3 separate regions of the Homo sapiens genome follow, and all the other regions are linked to region 1. Evidence: promoter capture Hi-C in 16 types of primary human blood cells and fetal thymus (Javierre and others, 2016). All regions are on one chromosome and are shown on one strand. The core of a region is centred on a gene start or on the middle of the fragment in contact, and the rest is flanking DNA. Distances in the headings are between cores, read along the strand shown. Region 1 has its middle 65 kb from the start of MIR1265. Region 2 holds the start of NMT2 (N-myristoyltransferase 2). Region 3 holds the start of FAM171A1 (family with sequence similarity 171 member A1).

Evidence for each region. Contacts are between HindIII fragments. The CHiCAGO score rates a contact against its expected background, and 5 or more counts as called.
Region 2: the fragment with the promoter of NMT2 here is called in contact with a fragment that was not itself captured in region 1 in 1 of 17 cell types (total B cells); the score reaches 5.3 in total B cells.
Region 3: a contact is called between the fragment with the promoter of FAM171A1 here and a fragment that was not itself captured in region 1, in 1 of 17 cell types (fetal thymus). The highest score is 8.6, in fetal thymus.

The regions. Positions count from the first base shown.
Region 1 is chr10:14,499,352-14,503,814 of GRCh38, reverse strand. No RefSeq gene overlaps it. Among named protein-coding and RNA genes, the nearest start is that of MIR1265, 65 kb to the right of the region's middle. The HindIII fragment of the contact is 3,660 bases long and covers 940-4,463 here.
Region 2 is chr10:15,166,854-15,170,910 of GRCh38, reverse strand. NMT2 (N-myristoyltransferase 2) reads left to right here and starts at 2,218. Exons shown (of 12, transcript NM_004808.3): 1 at 2,218-2,408. The coding sequence starts at 2,299. It also overlaps the pseudogene LOC124902566. RefSeq lists a silencer at 2,019-2,848. The HindIII fragment of the contact is 10,106 bases long and covers 1-4,057 here.
Region 3 is chr10:15,368,697-15,373,037 of GRCh38, reverse strand. FAM171A1 (family with sequence similarity 171 member A1) reads left to right here and starts at 1,749. Exons shown (of 8, transcript NM_001010924.2): 1 at 1,749-2,082. The coding sequence starts at 1,986. RefSeq lists silencers at 1,703-1,752, 1,763-1,992. The HindIII fragment of the contact is 10,313 bases long and covers 1-4,341 here.

The sequences.
Region 1 (4,463 bases), core at 1,520-4,019:
TGAAAGAAATTGAAAAAGAAAGAAATTGAAAATAAATGGAAAGATATCCTGTTCATGGATTAGAAGAATTAATATTGTTAAAATGGCCATACTATCCAAAGCAACCTACAGATTCAATGCCATCTCTATCAAAATTCCAATGTTTGAAGCTTGGTCTAGGAGAATCAATAGTATTGTGTTCTCTCAAAGGATAATCTATAGGGCACTTGATTGACAAGGGGCTTGAACAAAAATATAAGACACAATCAATAATCTATCTCCCATAAAACATGCAGGGAGATAACTTGAACTTATCTATATTCCACTCTGCTTTTCGCTAGACTGTATGCCTTGTAAAAGTCAATTTTTCCGAAAGTCAATTTTTCCAAAAGTCATTCTTTCTTTCAAAGCATATTGTTTGCAGTCTTGAATGGTGGAAAATAAGAGCAGAGAGGAAACTTCTACGTTGAACCTGATATTTTAACACCATAGGCCCTCCAAAAGTTATTTTTACTTTGAACAAATACAAAAATAATGCATAACTTTATTCCATCCTGATTTGCCCCCCAGCTGGCTGACTTCATTGGTTCATAAATTGCCCATGATGAATGAATTGACCTAAAGCCTTGAGCAGATGAATTTTGTGGTCAAGATTTGCTGAAAAATATATTTTTTCTCTTGTTTAGATATATCATTCCCTCAAAGAAAGGGAGTATTAACTCTGGGGTATTGATTTCCTTCTGAAAGGGACTTGGAGACCGTTGTCTTTCCACAGCCAAAAAATAAAAATAAATAAATCAAGGCTTGAATCCTTTCAAGAAATTCAAAGCAACTCCAGTTAGGCACTACAGATATTTAAGTAAATATCTGTATTTACTTAATATTTTACTTAAAAGTAAAACGTATCTACTCTGGCAGCTGGTAAGTGGTTATTTTGCATTGCAAATTTACCACAAAGCTTGTTACTTACCTATGTGCTGGAAGATGCCACCCTGCAATCTCAGAACACTGCCCATGGGTTCTCTCTGTGGACACGGTGATGGGTCTGCATGGAAGAGACCTCTTTCATATTGTTGCAGGGCCCACAAAGACTTTTAGCCCCCTAAAGAGGCAGGAGCCCAGTGAGAGTGAACCCACAAGGCAAGTCATGCCAATAAATCCAGCCAAGTGGAAACCACTAGACAGACGGGAAGATCACGGACAAGTCTGATTCCCATAAAATGGAATGTACATAATTTCCCTTTTTCTTCCACAATTTATTTTTCAGGCAAGGGAATTTAATATATAATAGGGACTTGGCTGATCTCAAAGGCAGGCTATTGCTGCTGCTCAAAGGCAGGCTAGCTCTCATTGACAAGCTATTAGTCTTAAAGATAAATCTCTCCTCTCATCCTCAGCACAACTCATTGACTTGCCCTCCCTCTCTTCCCTCCTCTCTTTCTTCTCTTCTTCTTACAAACAAAACAAAACAAAAGAGAGGTCTTCTTACAAACAAAACAAAAGAGAGGTCTTAACTGCTGATCATAACTGGTTATTCAGCCGGGAGGGTTCTTTTCCATAGTCATGCAAACTAGAGGCACTAATGAATCAATTTTCTGTCTTGGAGGTTACTGCTTGTATTACTTTATTTTCCATCATGGCTTATGTTGCCTATACAGGATCCCCAGGTACCTCCCCAAAGCATCATATTCCTCCAGGCTGGGCTGGCCCTTTGGGTAGCACTGTATGTACTTTCCTCCTACCTGATTTTGCACGGGATGGCTTTGGCTCTAGGACATTGTCACCCCTCTCTCCCTGGGACAGAACAATGAGGCAAGACAGACTGGGAGGCCCCAGGGAAGTGAGGTGGAGGAACAGGAACCCCAGGCAGCAAGGGTGATGAGAGTCAAGAGGAGACCCACCTTTTCCCATTGTCTCACCTCCCTAGGACATGCTCACTTTATTTTGTGTCAACTGACACACATCGAGTACCTGCCTTGTGCTAGTCGGCATGAGAATAAAAAGTGAGTAGGGCAGAGTCTCCATCCATGGGCTGATTCTTGGGAGGCCCCAAGGTAAGCAAGTGTTCCCAGCATGCCAGGATCCTCCTTGTATAGTGACCTTGACCAAAGTGGGTACAAAATGTGCTGTTGGGGCCACGAAAGAGCAATTTACATTTTCCTAAGAGTTCCAGGGAAGGTCAGATCCAGTTGTCACAAGCAAGTACCGCGGTCTTGTCTATGTCACCATATGGACATACTTAGAGGCTCCACACACACACATTGCTTTTTACAAGAGCAAAATGCAGAGAACGAAGGCAATAGCCAACTCTCAGTTATCGGTGGCTTCTTTTCTCCAACTGTTGGACTAATTCTCACTACTGACAGCAAGAAGCCAGGGGGCATCTGGGGCTAGTCTCCTTCAATAGAATGGCTGTGTGTGTGGGAGCAGGGGTGGGGGGGGTGTCGGGGAGGGGGCTGCTTTCCATAACCAAGGTCAGATGGAATTCACATTGGATGTTGGCTTGGATTTTGGGGGAAAAATTGAGTGGGCAATAGAATAAGGAGCACAGGCTCTGGAATCAGAGAACTTGGATTTGAATCATAGTCCCATCGCTTTCTAGCTTTGTGATTCTGGGAAAATAAATGCTTTGGCCCCAGTTTTCTCATCTGTAAAATGGGCGTAACTGACCAGGCATGGTTGCTCACATCTGTAATCCCAGTACTTTGGGAGGCCGAGGCAGGTGGATCACTTGAGGTCAGGAGTTCGAAGCCAGCCTGGCCAACAGGGCGAAACCCCGTCTCTACTAAAAATACAACAAGTAGCCAGGCATAATGTTACGCGCCTGTAATCCCAGCTATTCAGGAGGCTGAGACACAAGAATCACTTGAACCCAGGGGGCAGAGGTTGTAGTGAGCCGAGATTGCACCATTTAACTCCAGCCTGGACAACAGGGCAAGACTCCATCTCAAAAAATAAAAAGTAAAATAAAATGGGCATAATGATTTTGTTTGCCTCATTGAGCCGTTGTAAGAGTTAAAGGAGTAGGGTAGGTATAGTGGCTTATGCCTGCAATCTCAGCACTTTGGGAGGCCGAGATGAGAGGATCACTTGAGGCCAGGAGTTCCAGACCAGCCTGGGCAACATAGTGAGACCCTGTCTCTACAAAAAATAAAAAAAATTTAGCCAGATGTGGTGGCACCGGCCTGTAGTCCCAGCCACTTGAGAGGATGAGGTGGGAGGATTGCTTGAGTCCAGGAAGTTGAGGCTGCAGTGAGCCACGATTGCACCACTGCACTCCAGCCTGGGTGTCAGAGGGAGATGTCCTGTTGAAAAAAAAAAGTGTTAGAGGAGATTCATGTAAAGTGCTTAGTAAACATTAGTGATGATGATGATTGCTGTTCTTTTGTTTATATTTGTTATCTACACTTATTTATGAAGTTCAGGAAGTCCAGGCTCAGTCACAGGCTCTGGGGTGGGGCAGAGTGGCTGCAGTGTTGCTCACACACCCAACGTGCAGGGCCAGGGCCATCCTAGATACAACCCCTCACCACGTGGTATGATTTGAAGCCATAACGTCCAGCTGCCCTCAAATGCCTCTTCTAAAATCCTACCGTGTTAACCTTTTTTTTTTTTTGAGACGGAGTTTCACTCTTGTTGCCCAGGCTGGAGTGCAATGGCACGATCTCAGCTCACTGCAACCTCTGCCTCCCAGGTTCAAGCGATTCTCCTGCCTCAGCCTCCCAAGTAGCTGGGATTACAGGCATGTGCCACCATGCCACCATGCCTGGCTAATTTTTGTATTTTTAGTAGATACGGGGTTTCACCTTATTGGCCAGGCTGGTCTCAAACTTCTGACCTCAGGTGATCCACCCCCCTGGGCCTCCCAAAGTGCTGGGATTACAGGCATAAGCCACTGCGCCCAGCCCTGCATTAACCTTTAAAGTCCCAACCACTGTGTAGCGGTAAAATTTCAACATGCTGTTGTCTGGGGAAAGACAACGCATTTACCCTTTTCTACCTGGCAGAGATACCTTAATACATCCTCAAGCATTGGGTACAGCTGGGACAACCCCTTTTGGCTTGGCAACGGAGAAGTGGGACCAGGCGGTGGGGAAGCCAGTCAGGAGCCATGAGGAGCCTGGGACAGGAGGATGGTCAGTGACAGACAGTGTGGGGGTGAAGCATGTGGGGTTGGAGGCTGGGACATAAGGCCTGGCGCATAGTAGGCCCTCAATAAATATTTGCCATTAAATGACAGGGCCTGGAAAGAGGGAGCTGGGCACTGGCAGGCGTCGCTTGTCATCAGTGTGTCCAGGGCTGGCCCAGCCCAGCCAAAGTCAAGGTGCCTTCCCGGCGAGGAAGGCAGATGGTAGGTTTTCTCGGCCCGTTCTAAGGCCCGGAGGAAGCCTTTGTCCCTGCAGCAAGAACGCCTAATTCAGCCGTTTCTAGGAATCAAGGCTTCTCCTAAGTGTCTTCTTTTATGACTGGGCAAGATAGTCAAT
Region 2 (4,057 bases), core at 969-3,468, 670 kb before region 1:
ATTGGAGATTACACTGATTAATAAATAACTGAAACTTGAAAAAATAATACACTGGCAGCCATTTCACAGTGCTCCCATCCACCAAATAAACTTTAGATCTAAGATGCTGGAAGTTGCCACTTGGTTCCAATTCTCCAAATTCTGAAATTAAGCCAGGGAAATAAGTAAAAATATTTAGAAACATAGTGTTTCTATACGGGACAGTAGGATTTAGGAAGCCCCAGGGTCATCTGTAAACTTTTCCTTCCTTCCAAAGATTAATGCTGTAAAACATTTGTATTATATAATACTTCAATCCAGTACTGTACCGATGTACTTCAATCCAGTACTGTACCAACTTGTTTCCATTCTGGGGAACAGATGTTCCCTGTTTGTCATTGTTTTCTAGTGTTTCACTGGTTTTTGATGCCCTCATTTTATTTTTCCAGGATTATTTGTTTTCTTATTCTTTTTTAGAGCAGTTCTTAGTCAAAACTTCTTGAAAATTCAGATAAATATATGACTGCTGAGTTTCCTTTGCCTTAAGTTTTAAAAACTCTTTTAGAGAACCCTTCTGGCAGGTTAGAGTGGATGATTTGATTGATAGGCTTGCTCCTGGCCAGTTTCCTGTTGGTTACCCGAGCGGGCTGCGGGTTCTCCAACAATCCATGTTCACAGAGATGAGCTGCAGGAACCTCACTCATCTGTATTTGCTTCTATCCTAAAGTTTCACAGAGGTGACATGTGACATTTTGCCTCAGAAATAGTTGCCGTTGTTAAAGGCAATATTGTATTTCCTTTTGTGTTTTGACCCCATTTGCCCTTCTTACAGAATTTTAGTTGTCTCAATGCCAAACAGCTGACGGGCTTTGAAATCGCTCTGCAGTTTTCATCTTTTGATACTTCTAGCTCATTGCGTTTTAAAAACATAGTCTCCCTTGGGGAAAAAAGCCATAAAATGCTCCTAGTATCTTCTGCAAAAAAAGGACCCACACCAAAAAATTCAGGTGGCTCTTTAAAGTCTCATTTTCCTCACTGAGCGGGTTCTGATGATTATCTTTGCAAAACCACTGCGGAGACTTCCGGTGGCCTAGCAGCACATTTGAACAAGATCATCTCAGCAAAGCAAAGGACAGGACTGCTCTGTACAGAATGCAGTAGCAAATAAGAGAGGCTGAACTTCACCGGTCTTCTATTTGGCAGTACTACAGAATGCCTCCCTTCCCTCTTCTGAGAGAGACAGCGGACAATTTCAGCACAGAAGGCCGTGCACGTTTGCTTGGAAATCTAGGTCATGACCTTGACTTTGGGAAAGCCAGGGTAGCCTACCTGAAACTGTCCAATCCCCCAGCATCGTGGACACGTCCCCAAGTCCCTCAAGATGTCTGTTCTGGTCTGAGCCGTCCGTAGTAGTGTCCAGGGAAAGCAGGGGTAGCTCAAAAATTTCTGTCAAGAGTTTTAGTGCTGCAAGCCTGGTTGGGACAGGGCGGTGGAGGGCTGGAAATACTGTTTTTGACTTTGAATTTGATTTTATAATGTATTAGATGGATAGATAGATGCGAAATGGAATTGTTAACATGTATGTGGAGGGGCGGGAAGAGTTTCTGGAAAGCCCCATCCCTGAGTGCCTACTCCTGAGTGGGAAAAACCCCTGCACGGGCTGGGAGCGCTCCCTAATTCGTCCAGAAGTAAAATCGCATGGCCTGTGTTCCAAAAATGCCGCCACTCAGGATGTCAAGTCTGCACGTTTGCAGCTTTGAGAGCCGAGCCCCAGGCAGAGGCACCGCGCAGGCCTGGATGTACAGGACTCGGCCCTGTGCAGGGCTGGCCAGGGTGAGCAGGGTTGGAGCTGGCGGGGCGGGGAGGGGCGGGGCCATCTGGGAGGGGCTGCGGCGGTGGGCGGGGTTAGAGGGCGGGTTTGAAGCCGGCAGGGTGGGGAAAGGCGGGGCTGGAGGGGAGGGGTCTCAGAGGCGGGCGGGGTTAGAGAGCTGGATTGAAGCCGGCGGGACGGGGAGAGGCGGGGCTTGGTGGGGAGGGACGAAGAGGTGGGCGGGGTTCAAGCCCGTGGGGCAGGGCGGGGCCGGCGGGCAGGGCGGGGCCGGCGGGCTGGGCGCGGACGGTGAGGGGCGGGGATGGAGGGCGGGGCGGGACGGAGGGCGGGGAGGGGGCGGGACGGAGGGCGGGACGGGGCGCGGGCGGGGCGGGGCGGGGCGTAGCGCCCGGGCTCCGACTCCAAGCAGTACGGCGGGAGGCACTAGAGGGAGCTGCGGCCGCTCCGGCCCGGCCCCGAGCACCGCCTCCCCAGCCAGCGCCGCCGCGATGGCGGAGGACAGCGAGTCTGCGGCCAGCCAGCAGAGCCTGGAACTGGACGACCAGGACACGTGCGGGATAGACGGGGACAATGAGGAGGAGACGGAGCACGCCAAAGGGTAGGGGCGGCGCGCTGGCGCACCGGGCGCGACAGGGCGGGGACCGCGCGCGCCACGGTCTCCCGTTCGGGGGTGGCTCCCAGGACTGGGGGTTCTTCGGCCGCTCCGCCCCGCGATGGCTTCTCCGTGGCGCGGAGCCCATGGTGAGGTCCGGGGCGCGCGGCTCGCGGGAGAGTGCAGTGCGCGGGGAGGCGAGGCCCGGGGTGGGCGGGGAGGCTGGGGCCCGGGCGGGGAGACGCTACTGTCACTTGCCGCGCGCCCCCGGCCAGCCTCGCCCATCCCCGCCGGCGGCCTGGCCCAGGAGGCGCCTGTTGCCCTCGCCCGCGGGTGGCTCCGGTGGGCGCCGAGGAGAGGCGCTACGCCCTTCCCTTTGTGGCGGCCGCAGCCTGGGGTAGGAGGTCGCCCTCCTCTGCTCCCTGCCATCCTTGTTAAGTCCCTTCAGACTCCCTCTCCGCAGCCGCCACCCGAAAAGAATGGGCAAAGACGTGGGTGGAGCGGCGTGGAGGTGCCCCGATGGTGTCGGGGCCGCAGGCGGCGAACTGCGCAAAGTTCTGGCGCCGAGGGGGTCCCGGGCCCGGCCCCTGCTGGGGATACTGGGCTTTGCACCGCCTCGCCTGTCCCTAGAGCTCTTCAGAGCAGGGCCGATCCCCTGAACCGGGCTCCCGCTGACCTGGCCGTATCCTGTTTGCAAAGCTGGTATTTGATCTCCAAAACTCGATGCACCACGCATTTTCACACTTGATCGGATTTCTTAATCCTTTCCCTTTGCCCCCGAACCCTGCAGACTTGATTTGCTCTTCTGTTGGAGAAAAGGATTGCTTCAGGTGAAGGCCGGTGTTGATGCTCTCTTTTTAGAGGCAGTGGGTCATTTTAAATAAAAACTGGTGTCCTTTTAAAGTGCTGTTTACATTACCCTTTTACCCTATTGGATTCAAACTATGCGCTGGCACAGAGCGGTTCTTGCTACACCCTTAGAAGTGAGATTTTTCGAACCATGGTGAGTGATGGAGAAGTGGGTCAGCTTAAAAAACATGATAGGGAGGCCTGAGTCACAGATGGTTTACTCAGTTCGTAGAGAGATTCTTGAAATGATTGATCATTGAAAGTGTAAATCATTTGCATTCTACTTGTCTACTTTAAGATTTATTATAGAAAGGGACTTTTGACTGACCTCTAATTCATTATAAAATATTAACAAATGAAGAAAAAGAAAAGCTGACTATGTGCATCTCCCATTTGCAAGTTGTTTTTATCTTTGCCGTGAATACTTCAGTGGCGGCTGCAAGTATCGAATGTTCGAGTCTAGAATATTTTTTTTTTTAAAGAGAGGAAAGGAAATTGCATAGGAATCTGAACCTGAGCCCTGTTTATGCAGGGATAGAAACGTGTTTGTGATAGATAGCTAAATACAAATATGTTTTTGAAACGGTAGTTCTATTGCCAGAAATGGGCCCAGGTGCAGATGCAAGCTGATGGATTAGCTTCAGTACCTGTGTTTTCTTTCTGGAGAGACCCTGGACTTTTATCTTCTCTGCTGTAATTTCTGTTTATTGTTCCTCCTTTGATTGATATTCTAGGTTGGGGGCTTGATTAGGACTTCTTTGCTTACACTGTTGAGAATGCCCCTGGTACAAAGAATTCCTCATCTG
Region 3 (4,341 bases), core at 500-2,999, 870 kb before region 1:
TAAATGCTCAATTAATGAAATTACAGTAATAACCCTCCTTCTGGCCTGGTGTTCTGGAAGCAGTGTGGGGTGGATGATGGGTCTGGAGTGGATTTTCCTAGGTCCCCAGTGGAAGTCGGAAGGTCACCGCAGTGCTAGTTGGAAGAGAAGGTGGAGAGGGACAAGTGGAGGTGAAGGTTGTGTGGAAGGCATACCGACAGGAGTGGGTTGAGAGAAAGAAAAGTTGAGGTTGGAATGGAGGGGGTCCCTAGGCTCAAGGAAAGTCTAGAGGTTTGGTTTTGTTTTGTGTGTGGTTTTTTTGGTGGTTTTATTTTTTGATTTTTTTTTTTTTTTTTTTTTGAGACGGGGTCTCAGTCTGTCATCCAGGCTGGAGTGCAGTGGCACGATCTTGGCTCACTGCAACCTCCCCACTCCCAGGTTCAAGCGATCCTCCCACCTCAGCCTCCTGAGTAGTTGGGACCACAGGCATGGGCCACTATGCCTGGTTAATTTTTTTGTATTTTTGGTAGAGACAGGGTTTCACCATGTTGGCCCAGCTGGTCTCTTAACTCCTGAACTCAGGCCATCCACCTACCTCAGCCTCCCAAAGTGTTGGGATTATAGGCATGAACCATCACACCCAGCCAAGTCTGGAGGTTTTTGTGAAGAGTTTCAATTTTGGGGTCAGACTGACTGTTTTATTAGAATTTTGGCTCTGCCACTGACCAGGTATGCACTTTTGGACAAATTCCTTAACCCTCTTTAGCCTCTTTTCTCATCTGTGAATGGGGGGGATAATGCTAACTACCTCTTAGATCATGTATTGTGAAGATGGACAAAGAGTCTCTGCTTGACCGAACTACAGTCAGGCTCCGGAACCTTCTTCTAGGCTCAGTTGTGCCCTTCCTTGTAAAATCTGCTTTCAGGAAGAACCCTGCTAAGTCAGTTTACCAAGAACCCTCCACCCTGGATATCTGATCAGCTTCCCCATCCGCCCTGTCCTGCCCAGCCCTGCCAGGGGATGTCTGACTTTCAAGAATCCCCCTTCCCCCTGATGTTTCCTCTTATAATTTTTCATTCCCTGCATCCCACCCTGGTCCTCGGTTATAAATCCCCACTTGTTCCTGCTGTATTCAGAGTTGAACCCAACCTTTCTCCCCGACTGCAGAATCCCATGGTAGGGCTTATACCTATTGCGATGGTTCCAAAGAGGGTCTTCTTTGCTGTGCTTTCACACGTGTCATGGAATAGTCTTTTTTCTTTAATAGGACAGAAAGTTTTAAAGCACCTAGGGCCTCAAAAGATGTGGATTTCCTCCCCACCCTAACCCCTAGAACCATCCAAGTACCATTCCTCCTGAAGCTGTCCACCCGCCAACACGTAGGTACTGCAGGCCTACTGCAGTCTATACTGGCTTGGGGAGTGTTTTTGCGGATCTTTAACACTGGGTGTGAAATCTACGTTGGGGGACACAACTACATTAGGATGGCACCTGGTGGGGGGGTCACACCCAGATACAATGTCTCCTGCGGCCCCTTGGGTGACCTGGTGTGATGAAAAGGGCTCCGCCCTGAAAGGCAGGTCTGGCTCTTCTGCGGGGCTGCGGGGATGGGGCGCGCCGGGGCAGTGTCGCCGGGGGTCGGGCTGGGGGCGCGACGCAGCGGCGCCGGGCGGGGGCGCCCTCGGCGCCGCAGCCGCCAGGTGGCACCACGGGCCCGGGGCCTGGGCGCGGGCAGCGGCGGCGGCGGCGGGCGAGGCAGGAAGGGGTTAAGGAGCTGGCGGAGCAGCAGCAGCCGCCGCCGCCGCCGCCGCCGCGGCTCTTCGGGGAAACCCGGCGCGGGGCGCGGGAGGGAGCGGCCGGGGCGGCGGGGCCGGGCCAATCGGGCGGCGGGCCCGGCGCGCGGAGCCAGCGACATGGAGGGGGGCGCGGCGCCCGGCCGCCCGTGACGCGCCGCCGCCCGGCCCGCTCTCGGCGAGCCCGAGCCGCCGCCGGCCCCGCGGCGGAGATGAGCAGGTCCGCGACGCTGCTGCTGTGCCTGCTGGGCTGCCACGTCTGGAAGGCGGTGACCAAGACGCTGCGGGAGCCCGGCGCCGGAGCCCAAGGTCAGTGGGCGGCGGCGGGGCCGGGGGCTTTGTGTCGCGCCGGGCCTGGCGCGGAGGCGGCGGCGGCGGCGGCGGCGGCGGGAGGGTCCCGGGCCGCGTGGTGGCGACGCAGCCCGAGCCGCATCGGGAGCCTCCGGGCCTGCAGCACCCGCAACGCGCTCCCGAGGGGGCGGCGCGGGCCGGCGACGCGGGGTGACCCGGGCGGAGGCTTCGGGGGCCGGGGATCGGGGGCTGGGTCGGGCGGGGGCGCGGGCAGCTCCAGCTGCTGTCGCCGCTGCGGCGGGGGCTCGTCTGGATGCGCCCGGGGGTCCCCTTTATGCCGCGCCTCGGACACGCGGCTCTGTCTCCCATGTCGCCGCGGACAGAGGGGCCGCCCAGGGCGCGCCGCCCGATCGCGCTCCCGGCTCCCCACGCCGGGCTCGGGTCTGGGAAGTCCCAGCTCCTGGGCTGCGCTGGGGCCTTTTGTTGTGGCGGGAGGGGGTGGCTGACGCCCCGGGGTGCCCCCTGTGTCCCGGGGCCCCGAGGTCCGCTGCCGCCACTAGCCACTAGCCTGCCGCAGTTTGGGAAAGTTTGGGGGGTTCTCTCCCCCTGCCTATCTGACGTCTCTTCCAGACCATAAGGGATTTGCTCAGCGGCCCATGAGTCTTCTCTGTAAGGGAAGAAAGAATTGAACTGGGAGGCCCTCATCGCTCACCAAAAAAAAAAAAAAAAAAAAGAAAAATCCTTTCCAGATCAGTTTGTCGCCAGCTCGTGCCTTTTGTCTCGTCTTTGGCCTCCACAAATCTGCTTTCCAGCCCTGGGAGTAACGTGGTCGCCTCTGAGAATGGCCACGAGCCTGTCTTTTGTTTTTAAAATCAGCGTTTTTTGAGGGGAGTCCCCCACACCCACCCTGAGGCTTGCTTGGCACATTTTTGTGGGGACAGCGTCGAGGACTCCTCTGTTGCTGGCGTTTTCAAAAGGGCCACTGAGGCCCGCAGATGAGCCTCTGCATTCACCCAGGGCACCGCTGCCTGGACTCTTGCCGGGGGCTCAGGTCTCTGCGAGGGAGCTCCCTGCAGCCCTGCAGAACCCCGGGATTCCGAGCCCGAGGCCTGTCCCCTCAGAAGGGTGTGTGTCCTGCAAAGTTGGCCCTGCAGGCCAAAGAAACGAGGAGTGCTGCATCCGAGGGTCTCCTTGCTGGAACCCCCTTTCCTCGGCTAACATGCTCAGGGTGCCTGGGAGCAGAGACGCCCGGGCTTCCACCACGATGTTGCTACGGGGAGGAAAGGCTCTGCCAACACTCTGTTGGGTTGAGTTTGTTGCCTACATGTTGAGTTGAAGGTTTTCATATTCTGGCACTTGCAGTATCATTTCCTGGTATATCTTAAATGCATTGCTGCTTCTATGGCCATGGTAGAATATGACCGTTATGAATTGTGTATAATTTTAGTAATGCATATCATGGAAGAGCGGACAGCTACAAAATACAAAAAGACCTATATGTCTCTTCGTGTAGGAAACGAATGTTTAGGACATTAGATCATCAGTGTTGCATTGCAGCTTCTTTTATTAATACCCTACTGCTTTTTTGAATCAGCTATTTTAGAGAATGATATTTGCACTTCAGCGAGGCCGTTAATTTTAAAGAGCAAGTTGAATTTTTCCTTTTGCACTTGAAATACCAATATATGGAAATATTAAATTCATGCACTTCTGAATTAGAGAAAGGAAGGCATGTCTTCAATATATATATATATATATATTCAATATATATATAACAGGTTTAGGTCTAAGACCACGTTTTACCCAGCTCTTGCTGCTAAAAATCCGCCTCTCAGGAATGGAATATTATGCGAAATGGGAGGGAAATGGTCAACATGAGAAGAGGTTTCTGCCATGGCTAGCAGTGGCTTAGTTTAGGGTATGGTTGGAGTGGGAGATCAAGTATCTTGGCATAGTTTACCCCTTGGATTACTTCCTTTGTTGTTATCTACTGTAAGGATGGCTTTTTAAAGCCTTGAGCCCAGGAACTCTTTCAGAAATCAGGTCTCACTACCTGGCATTTGGATTTTGAGCTAGCAGCATTTTTAAGGGAATGGACAATTTCTCCTTTGACATTAGAAGGTCAGTCCCAACTCACTGAGTTCTTCAAAGCATCTTAATGTTCACTTGCTGTAGTATGACGTAGTTTTAAAATTCATGTGTTCTCTGCTTTCCTGGATCATGTACACGATGAAGACAAATGCTGCATCTGATTTCACTTTGCATTTCCCACAGTGG